3 separate regions of the Homo sapiens genome follow, and regions 2 and 3 are each linked to region 1. The links are contacts of gene promoters, found by promoter capture Hi-C in human tissues and cell types (Jung and others, 2019). All regions are on one chromosome and are shown on one strand. Each heading gives the region's core, a stretch centred on a gene start or on the middle of the fragment in contact. The rest is flanking DNA. Distances are from core to core; before and after follow the strand shown. Region 1 holds the start of ZNF141 (zinc finger protein 141). Region 2 has its middle 19 kb from the start of ZNF595. Region 3 overlaps LOC124900162 (a long non-coding RNA gene).

Region 1 (2,525 bases), core at 15-2,514:
GAGTGGGTTAGCATTGGGTGGGGGCTGGCAGCAGGGTGCAGGGAAGGGATGTTTCTCAGAACTCCTTTCCTCCAAGTTCTCAGCGCCCTCTCTCCCCGGGAGGAGACCTGGAGGAACAGAACAGTGCGCAGCAGGACAGTGCATGTGCAGAACCCGGCTGGTCTCCCGCGGACACCTGCGACTCCCTCCAGCCCAGGCTCAGCCATGTCTTTCTTCTGACAGGAAACGTGAGGAGTTTGCTCAACACCAGTCAATGCTCCGACCCCAACGGGCTGTCCAACAACTCACTAACGACACCACCCGGAGTCAGCACAGACCCCACAAGCTCAGCGCTCTTCCCGCAGCTGCCCCCCTGCAGACGCCAGTCCCTGCCTCTGGACACCCGTCTTCATTTCTGAACACCTGTCTACAAACCAGGGGCCCACACCCTCCTCAAGTTCAATAATATGACAGAACTACTCACAGAACTCAGCGAAGCGCTGTGCGCGCCCACACTAGCGTATTCTAAAAGATGCCACTCAGGAACAGCCACGCGGAGGAGGCGCACAGGGCAAGGAGACTGGTGGGCAAGTTGGAGCGGGCGGGTGATTTGCTTCGCTTCCTCACACACCTCACAAAAGCTTTTCCTTCAAGACCCGCTGGCAGCCCCCAAACCACGAGCCACGGCCGGCGCTGTCCCATTAATGAGTCCCCATTTGCTCACATGAACTCTGTTTTGATGGGGCCTCGATCTCATTCCGAACAGGGTAAAGCAGGGACGGGATCCCCAGACCACAGCTTCTCCCACAGCTCCTCCCACGCCGGCATCGCGCACGCCGCGCGGGCGGCTTCCAGATAAGCTACTCCTCACCCCACAGCCTGGGGAAGGTGCGGGGCTGCGGGCGCAGAGCTGCACAAGGAGGGCTGCAGGCTGGGCCAGAGCCGCTGTGCGGGGACCGACAGGAGCCCAGGTCCCTCACCGGAGGGTACTGAGGCCCCAGGGCTGAGCGGCGGCAGCGGGGACTCCGTTCGCAGACTCGGTCCCGCCGCCATTTCCCGCCAGCTCCGATGAGACCTCCTCAGCCTTGGGACGCCCTGCCCCGCACACTCACCATTTCCCCACTTCTGAAGTATTCGGGAGTCTTAGCTACCAATCATCCAATACCCGCAGGTCACAGAGCGACGGAGGCTGAGCTGTGGCCGAATCACCAAGGCCTCCCACAACTGAGAACGCAGAGAGATGAAGCCCCTAACCCGCGGTCTGGTAGTAGCCAGACGCAAAGACCCGCGCCACATCCCGGAAGCCACCGCCTCCTCTCTGGCTGCGTGCCTGATTGGGCAGTTTTCACTCCAGTGCGCTGATTGGATACGGCTCCAATCTCCCCGCCATCAGACCTTGAGTGACAGAAGTTGCAACCACATACTCCACGGAATGTGGCGAGAGTGACAGCCGGGGGGCCTCCAGGCAGTTTCAGGCGGGGCTTTCTCTTCGTGCTTGGCCTGGCACAGCCCAGGGGTCATTTTTTAACCTTGTGATGTGTAAGGTGACGTCCATTTAGAAATTATACACGCACGCACACACACAGACATATACGCGCGCGCGCACACACAGACGCGCGCACGTACGCAGTCTCACATAAACATACAAAAGTCACAGACACACACACACACACACGCACGCACCCACGCACGCACAGCCCATCCTTCCTCCAAGGCTCGCGAATCATCTCTCCACAAATCCTGCCTTCGGGGCCGCAGCCTGCAGGCCGACCTCAGTCCGTCCTCACAGAGCCTAGTTGGGTGCACAGCTCTCCCTGACGCGCGAGGAGCAGGTTCACGGGAGTCGGTCGCGCATCCCCAGCGCCCTGCGGGCCTCGCACCGGCTGTGGCGGTGACCCCGGTGAGGAGGGCTTTGGTGCGGGTCACCGTTGCTGAGGACACCCTCCTCCCCCGGAAGCGCGGTCCTGGGGGTCTGGGGGGCGGGTCCCTGACCGCTGTAAACAATAGGTCGGTGGTGTCCACGCAGCAGGCAGCAAATTCTCAGGAAGTGAGCGTCCCGTCTTTGGCTTCACCTTCGTGTCTGTAGAATGGGGGTGAGGGGACTCAGGACTCGGAGCGCTGTCGGGCGGGGCGAGGTGGGCTGAGAGTGTGTCTCCCTCCCCAAGCTCACCCGGAGCTGTGCGGGGCGGGACCGCCCCAGGACCCTCGGTTCCCAGGAGCTCCTGGGGGCCCCGCCGCCCCCACCCCAGGCCGCGCTGCGCAGCCCCAGTCCCCGCCGGCCCCACCGCGCGGTCGCTTTGAGGTCGGCCGGGGTCTGCCCGGCGATGGCGACGCTGCAGCCGCTGGAGCCGGGGCCACCGGGGATCTCGGCGGGACCTGGCGGCAGCGAGGACGCGGACCCTGGAGAGATGGGAGGGGCGCGCCCCGAGCCCGAGCCCCACCCGGACCCGGCTGCCGTCGGCCTAGCCAGGGCCGGGGCGGACACCGTCGAGGACGAAGCCGGGCCCGCGCCCCTGGGCGACCCGTTGAGCCGCGGAGCCCCGCGG
Region 2 (2,525 bases), core at 11-2,510, 300 kb after region 1:
GGGGAAAAGACTCCGTTCAATAAATGGTGCTGGGATAACTGGCTAGCCACATGCTGAAGATTGAACTGGGCCCCTTTCTTACACCATACACAAAAATGAACTCAGGATGGATTAAAGACTTAAGTGTAAAACCCAAAAATATAAAAACCCTGGAAGACAACCTAGGCAATACCATCCTGGACATAAGAACAGGCAAAGATTTCATGACAAAGACAACAAAAGCAATAGCAATGAAAGCAAAAATTGACGTGGGATCTAGTTAAACTAAAGAGCTTCTACACAGCAAAAGAAACTATCAACAAAGTAAACAGGCAACTTGCAGATTGGGAGAAAGTATTTACAAACTATGCATCTGACAAAGGTCTAATATCCAGCATCTATAAGGAACTTAAACAAATTTACAAGAGAAAAACAACCCCATTAAAAAGTGGGCCAAGGACATAAAGAGACACTTCTCCAAAGGAGACAAACATGTGTGCCGGGCGTGGTGGCTCACGCCTGTAATTCCTGCATTTTGGGAGGCCAAGGAGGGTGGATCACAACGTCAGGAGATTGAGACCATCCTGACTAACATGGTGAAACCCCGTCTCTACTAAAAATACAAAAAATTAGCCGGGTGTGGTGGCAGGCACCTGTAGTCCCAGCTACTTGGGAGGCTGAGGCAGGAGAATGGCGTGAACCCAGGAGGCAGAGCTTGCAGTTAGCTGAGATCGCACCACTGCACTCTGGCCTGGGTGACAGAGCGAGACTCGGGCTAAGAAAAAAAAAAAAAAAAAAAAAAGCAAACGTGGCAAACAAGCATATGGAAAAAAGCTCTAGATCACTGATCACTAGAGAAATGCTCATCAAAACCACAGTGAGGCACCATCTCACACCAGTCAGAATGGCTATTACTAAAAACTAAAAAACTAACAGAAGTTGGCAAGGTTGCAGGGAAAAGTGAACATGTATACACCATTGGTGGGAGTGTAAGTTAATTCAACTGTGGTGGAAAGCAGTATGGTGATTCCTCAAAGAGCTAAAAGCAGAACTACAACATTTGACCTAGCAATCCCATTACTGGTTATATACCCAGATGAATATAAATCATTCTACCATGAAGTTACATGCATGCAAATGTTCATTGCAGCACTATTCACAATAGCAAAGACATAGAATCAACCCAAATACTCATCAGTCACGGATTGGATAAAGAAAATGTGCTACATATACACCATGGAATAATATGCAGCCATAAAAAAGAATGAGATTATGTCTTTTGCATTAGTATGGATGAAGCTGAAGGGTATTATCCTTAGCAAACTAACGCAGGAACAGAAAACCAAATACAGCATGTTCTAACTTATAAGTGGGAGCTAAATGATAAGAACTTGTGAACACAAAGAAGGAAACAAAAGACACTGGGGTCTACTTGATGGGGGGAGGGTGGGAGGAGGGAGAGGAGCAGAAAAGATAACTATTGGATACTGGGCCTAATACCTGGATGATGAAATAACAGGTACAACAAACCCCTGTGACACGTATTTAACTGTATAACAAACCCTCCCGTGTACCCCCTAACCTAAAATAAAAGTTAAAAAAAAAGAAACACAGCTTTTTATTTTTTTTCTTTTTAATCCCATAAAGGTCATGGGCCATTTGCCACCTGAACAGTCAGTAACACATGAGTGGAAAGAAACTGAACACCCAGGGACACCAGAGACCGTTCACTGTAGAGGAAGGAGGCAGGTATAACTCATAAGGTGAACTTCCTCCAGTCCCAGAGTTGTTCCCCTCTCCTTAAATGTGGGTCCCATGGAATTCAGACTAGGAAGTAAAGCAAATGAGAAAGGCCTACAGGGGAGCAGTTCAAATGTGTGGAAAAGGATAGAGCAGCCCCAATGAGGAAGGAAGGCTGGACAAGCAATGGATTTGTAGGGAAGACAATGTGCACCCATCGGAGCTCTGATTCCTTCATTTTCACTACCCTCCCCTGCCCACTAACATAAAAAAAGTATTGATGGCAAGTGTTGGGCCATAAGACATTTCCTTGCTTTATAATCTGGATTTGGGGGGTTACATTTCAGAGATAATGAAAATCTCCTCCTTTAGTTAACTTTTAATTTCATAATTCTAACTTTGTTTTTACAGATTTGTGAACATGTAAAACAAAGAAAACAGCATGGGAGTAATTTATAATCAACAAATATGTGTTCACTGAGTGACACTCACATGGCATATGGCATATGGGCATCCTGAGAGTAGGATCGTGGGGCATCCGATGGTGATTGTCCTTAGAGTTGGTCGGAGCCCAGCCTTCCACGGTCTGCGCACTGCTGTGTGTACAATCGGTGCCTTCTTTAAGTTCACAGCAATGCCACAAGGCAAATAGCACTGTCTTCACTTTCTGTGTGAGAGAACTAAGGCTGGGTGAGAGTATGCAGAGCTGGATCATGGATTTGTTTGGCTCCTTCTAGTTTCAAAACCTGTAAATATTTTGCTGTCTCTAATGCTAATCTTAGCACTATATTTGGAATAAGCATATA
Region 3 (2,525 bases), core at 19-2,518, 270 kb before region 1:
TGCGATGGTGTACACCTGTAGTTCCAGCTACTTGGGAAGCAGAAGTGGGTGAATTGCTTGAGCCTGGAATGTTACGGCTTCACTGGGCTATGGTGGTGTCACTGCACTCCAGCCTTGGCAAGAGAATGATACCCTGTCTCTAAACAAAAAAACCCAAACCTCAAAACAAATTGGATTGTTTGTTTACTTATGACAGCAGTTTCTCCTTATCTGCTGGGTATACATTCCAAGACCCCCCAATGAATGCTTGAAACCATGGATAGTACTGAACTCTGAACTTTATACATACTACATTTTTTCCTATAAATATATACCTATGATAAAGTTTAATGTACAAACTAGGCAAAATAAGAGACTAAAAATAATAATAAAATAGAACAATTATAACAGTAAACTGTAATAAAAGTTACGTGAATGTGGGCTCTGTCTCTCTCTCTCAAAATATCTTGTTGCATGTAATATTTTCCGACCACAGTTTACTGCTGGTAACTGAAACCACACAAAGTGGAACCACAGACAAGCGTGTGGTGGGGGGTGCTGTAATGCATTTTGTTCTTTATATATTCCAGACATAAATCCTTTATCAGATATGTGATTTTAAAATACTTTCTTCCAGTCTATGAATTGCCTTTTTATTCTGTTAACAGTGTCTTCCCAAGAGCAGATGCTTTTAATGCTGATGAAGGCTGGTTTATTGTTTTTATAGATGATGCTTTTGAAATCACAGCTAAAAAATCTTTGTCCACTCAAGATCACAGAAATGTTCGCTTAGGTTTACTTCTAGCAACTGTGTAGTCTTAGGTGTGACATTTACGTCTGCAGTACATTTTGAGTTATTTTTATATGTGGTCCGGGTATAGATCGAGGCTCTCTTTTTCTTTTTGCACATGCATATTCAATAGTTCCAGCATCACTGGTTGAAAAGACATTTCTTTCTCTACGAATTGTCACATTTACATATTATACCACTTCACATACAGTGCAAGAACCTTACGTCAGTGTTATGGATTGAAATTGTGTCCCACAAAATTCATATGTTGAAATCCCAGCCCCCAGTACCTCATGACGTGATCGTTATTTGAAGGTAAGACCTTTAAAGAGGTAATTTAGGCCGGGTACGGTGGCCCGCACCTGTAATCGCAGCACTTTGGGAGGCCGGGTACGGTGGCTCGCGCCTGTAATCCCAGCACTTTGGGAGGCCGAGGCAGGCGGATTGCCTGAGCTCAGGAGTTCAAGACCAGCCAACATGGTGAAACCCTGTCTCTACTAAAATACAAAAAATCAGTTGGGCGTGATAGCGTGCACCTGTAATCCCAGCTACTCGGGAGGCTGAGGCAGAAGAATCGCTTGAACCCGGAAGGTGGAGGTTGCAGTGAGCTGAGATCATGCCACTGCACTGCAGCCTGGGCAACAGAATGAGACTCAGTCTCAAAAAAAATAAAATAAATAAATAAATAAATTTTAAAAATAAAGAGGTGATTAAGTAGAAATGAGGCATGAATGTGGGGCTCTAATTCAACATGGCTGGCATTCCTATAAGACGAGGAGACCAGGTCACACAGAGTCCCCTGGGTGAGCCCGCGTGGAGGGAAGACCATGTGAAGAGGCAGCAAGAGAGCAGCTGTCTGCAGACCAAGGAGAGAGACTTCTGCGGAGACCACACCCGTCAACGTCTTCATCCCAGACTCTCAGCCTTCAGAATGGTCAGAGGACACATTTCTGCTGCTGAAGCTACCTAGTCTGTGGTAGCTTGCTATGGAAGTGTTAGAAAACTAACAAGGAAAGTGGGGGTCTGTGTGTATTTGGGGGATCAAAGCCTTTGTGCAGAGGCCCCTGACCCTCCACTCTCAAGGCCTGGGTAGGGCTGAGGAATGACCGCATCTGTGCTTCTACAGGCTTGCATCGCCCTGGCAGCTGGAAGCCGGTTCTGCGGTGTTAGGTGAACACAGGGCACCTGACTGGTCCAAGCACGCCACCCAGAGGCAGCCTTGGAACTGCACCTGCTGGGCAGGACCTGGGCTCTACCTGCGTCCTTCCTGACAGCCCATCAGAGTCCATGGGATGGATGCACCTGCTCGTGCACCTGCCTCCAAGGTCTGTGGGCTAGGTGGGCCCAAGGGGGCCTGGTGTTGGCACAGAGCCTCTGGAGCCAGGAAGATGGTGGCAGTGTTTGGTGGCTTCTCCTGGCCTGAACATGGCCCCCAGGGCTGGGGTGGGATAGGATGCCCTCATCTGCAGGTCCTTAAGCGGTTGTGATGACAAGAAGTGGGAGTGGCTGCTCAGGGCCCCTGGGCAGCTGGACCTTGGGGACAGTCCCTGGGCTGGGAAGGCGCTCAGAGTGCACGTCTTAGCAGCCTGGGGTGCCTGCTGCCCTTGACGGGGACATGGGTGGGTTTTTATAGGGCAGGGGAGTGGCCGACCTTGGGTAGAAAGGAGCAGAACGAAGGCCGGAGGAGGGAGGTGACTGGGCAGAGGCAGCCCCAGTGGCCGGGCCGCTTGCCCCCGTCTGTCCTGTGGGGCTCCCT

The links. Contacts are between HindIII fragments. The study calls those that stand out against the background at their distance.
Region 2: a contact is called between a fragment that was not itself captured here and the fragment with the promoter of ZNF141 in region 1, in 1 of the 25 tissues and cell types used here (dorsolateral prefrontal cortex).
Region 3: a fragment that was not itself captured here is called in contact with the fragment with the promoter of ZNF141 in region 1 in 1 of the 25 tissues and cell types used here (dorsolateral prefrontal cortex).

What each region holds. Positions count from the first base shown.
Region 1 is chr4:336,553-339,077 of GRCh38, reverse strand. It overlaps ZNF141 (zinc finger protein 141), which reads right to left and starts at 1,264. Exons shown (of 4, transcript NM_003441.4): 1 at 1,092-1,264. The coding sequence starts at 1,094. RefSeq lists enhancers at 1,415-1,514, 559-1,519, 1,625-2,140 and silencers at 2,155-2,264, 2,495-2,525. The HindIII fragment of the contact is 20,671 bases long and covers 1-2,525 here.
Region 2 is chr4:33,288-35,812 of GRCh38, reverse strand. No RefSeq gene overlaps it. Among named protein-coding and RNA genes, the nearest start is that of ZNF595, 19 kb to the left of the region's middle. The HindIII fragment of the contact is 4,755 bases long and covers 1-2,525 here.
Region 3 is chr4:602,288-604,812 of GRCh38, reverse strand. The region is part of intron 1 of LOC124900162 (a long non-coding RNA gene); the gene reads right to left. Among named protein-coding and RNA genes, the nearest start is that of PDE6B, 22 kb to the left of the region's middle. The HindIII fragment of the contact is 9,672 bases long and covers 1-2,525 here.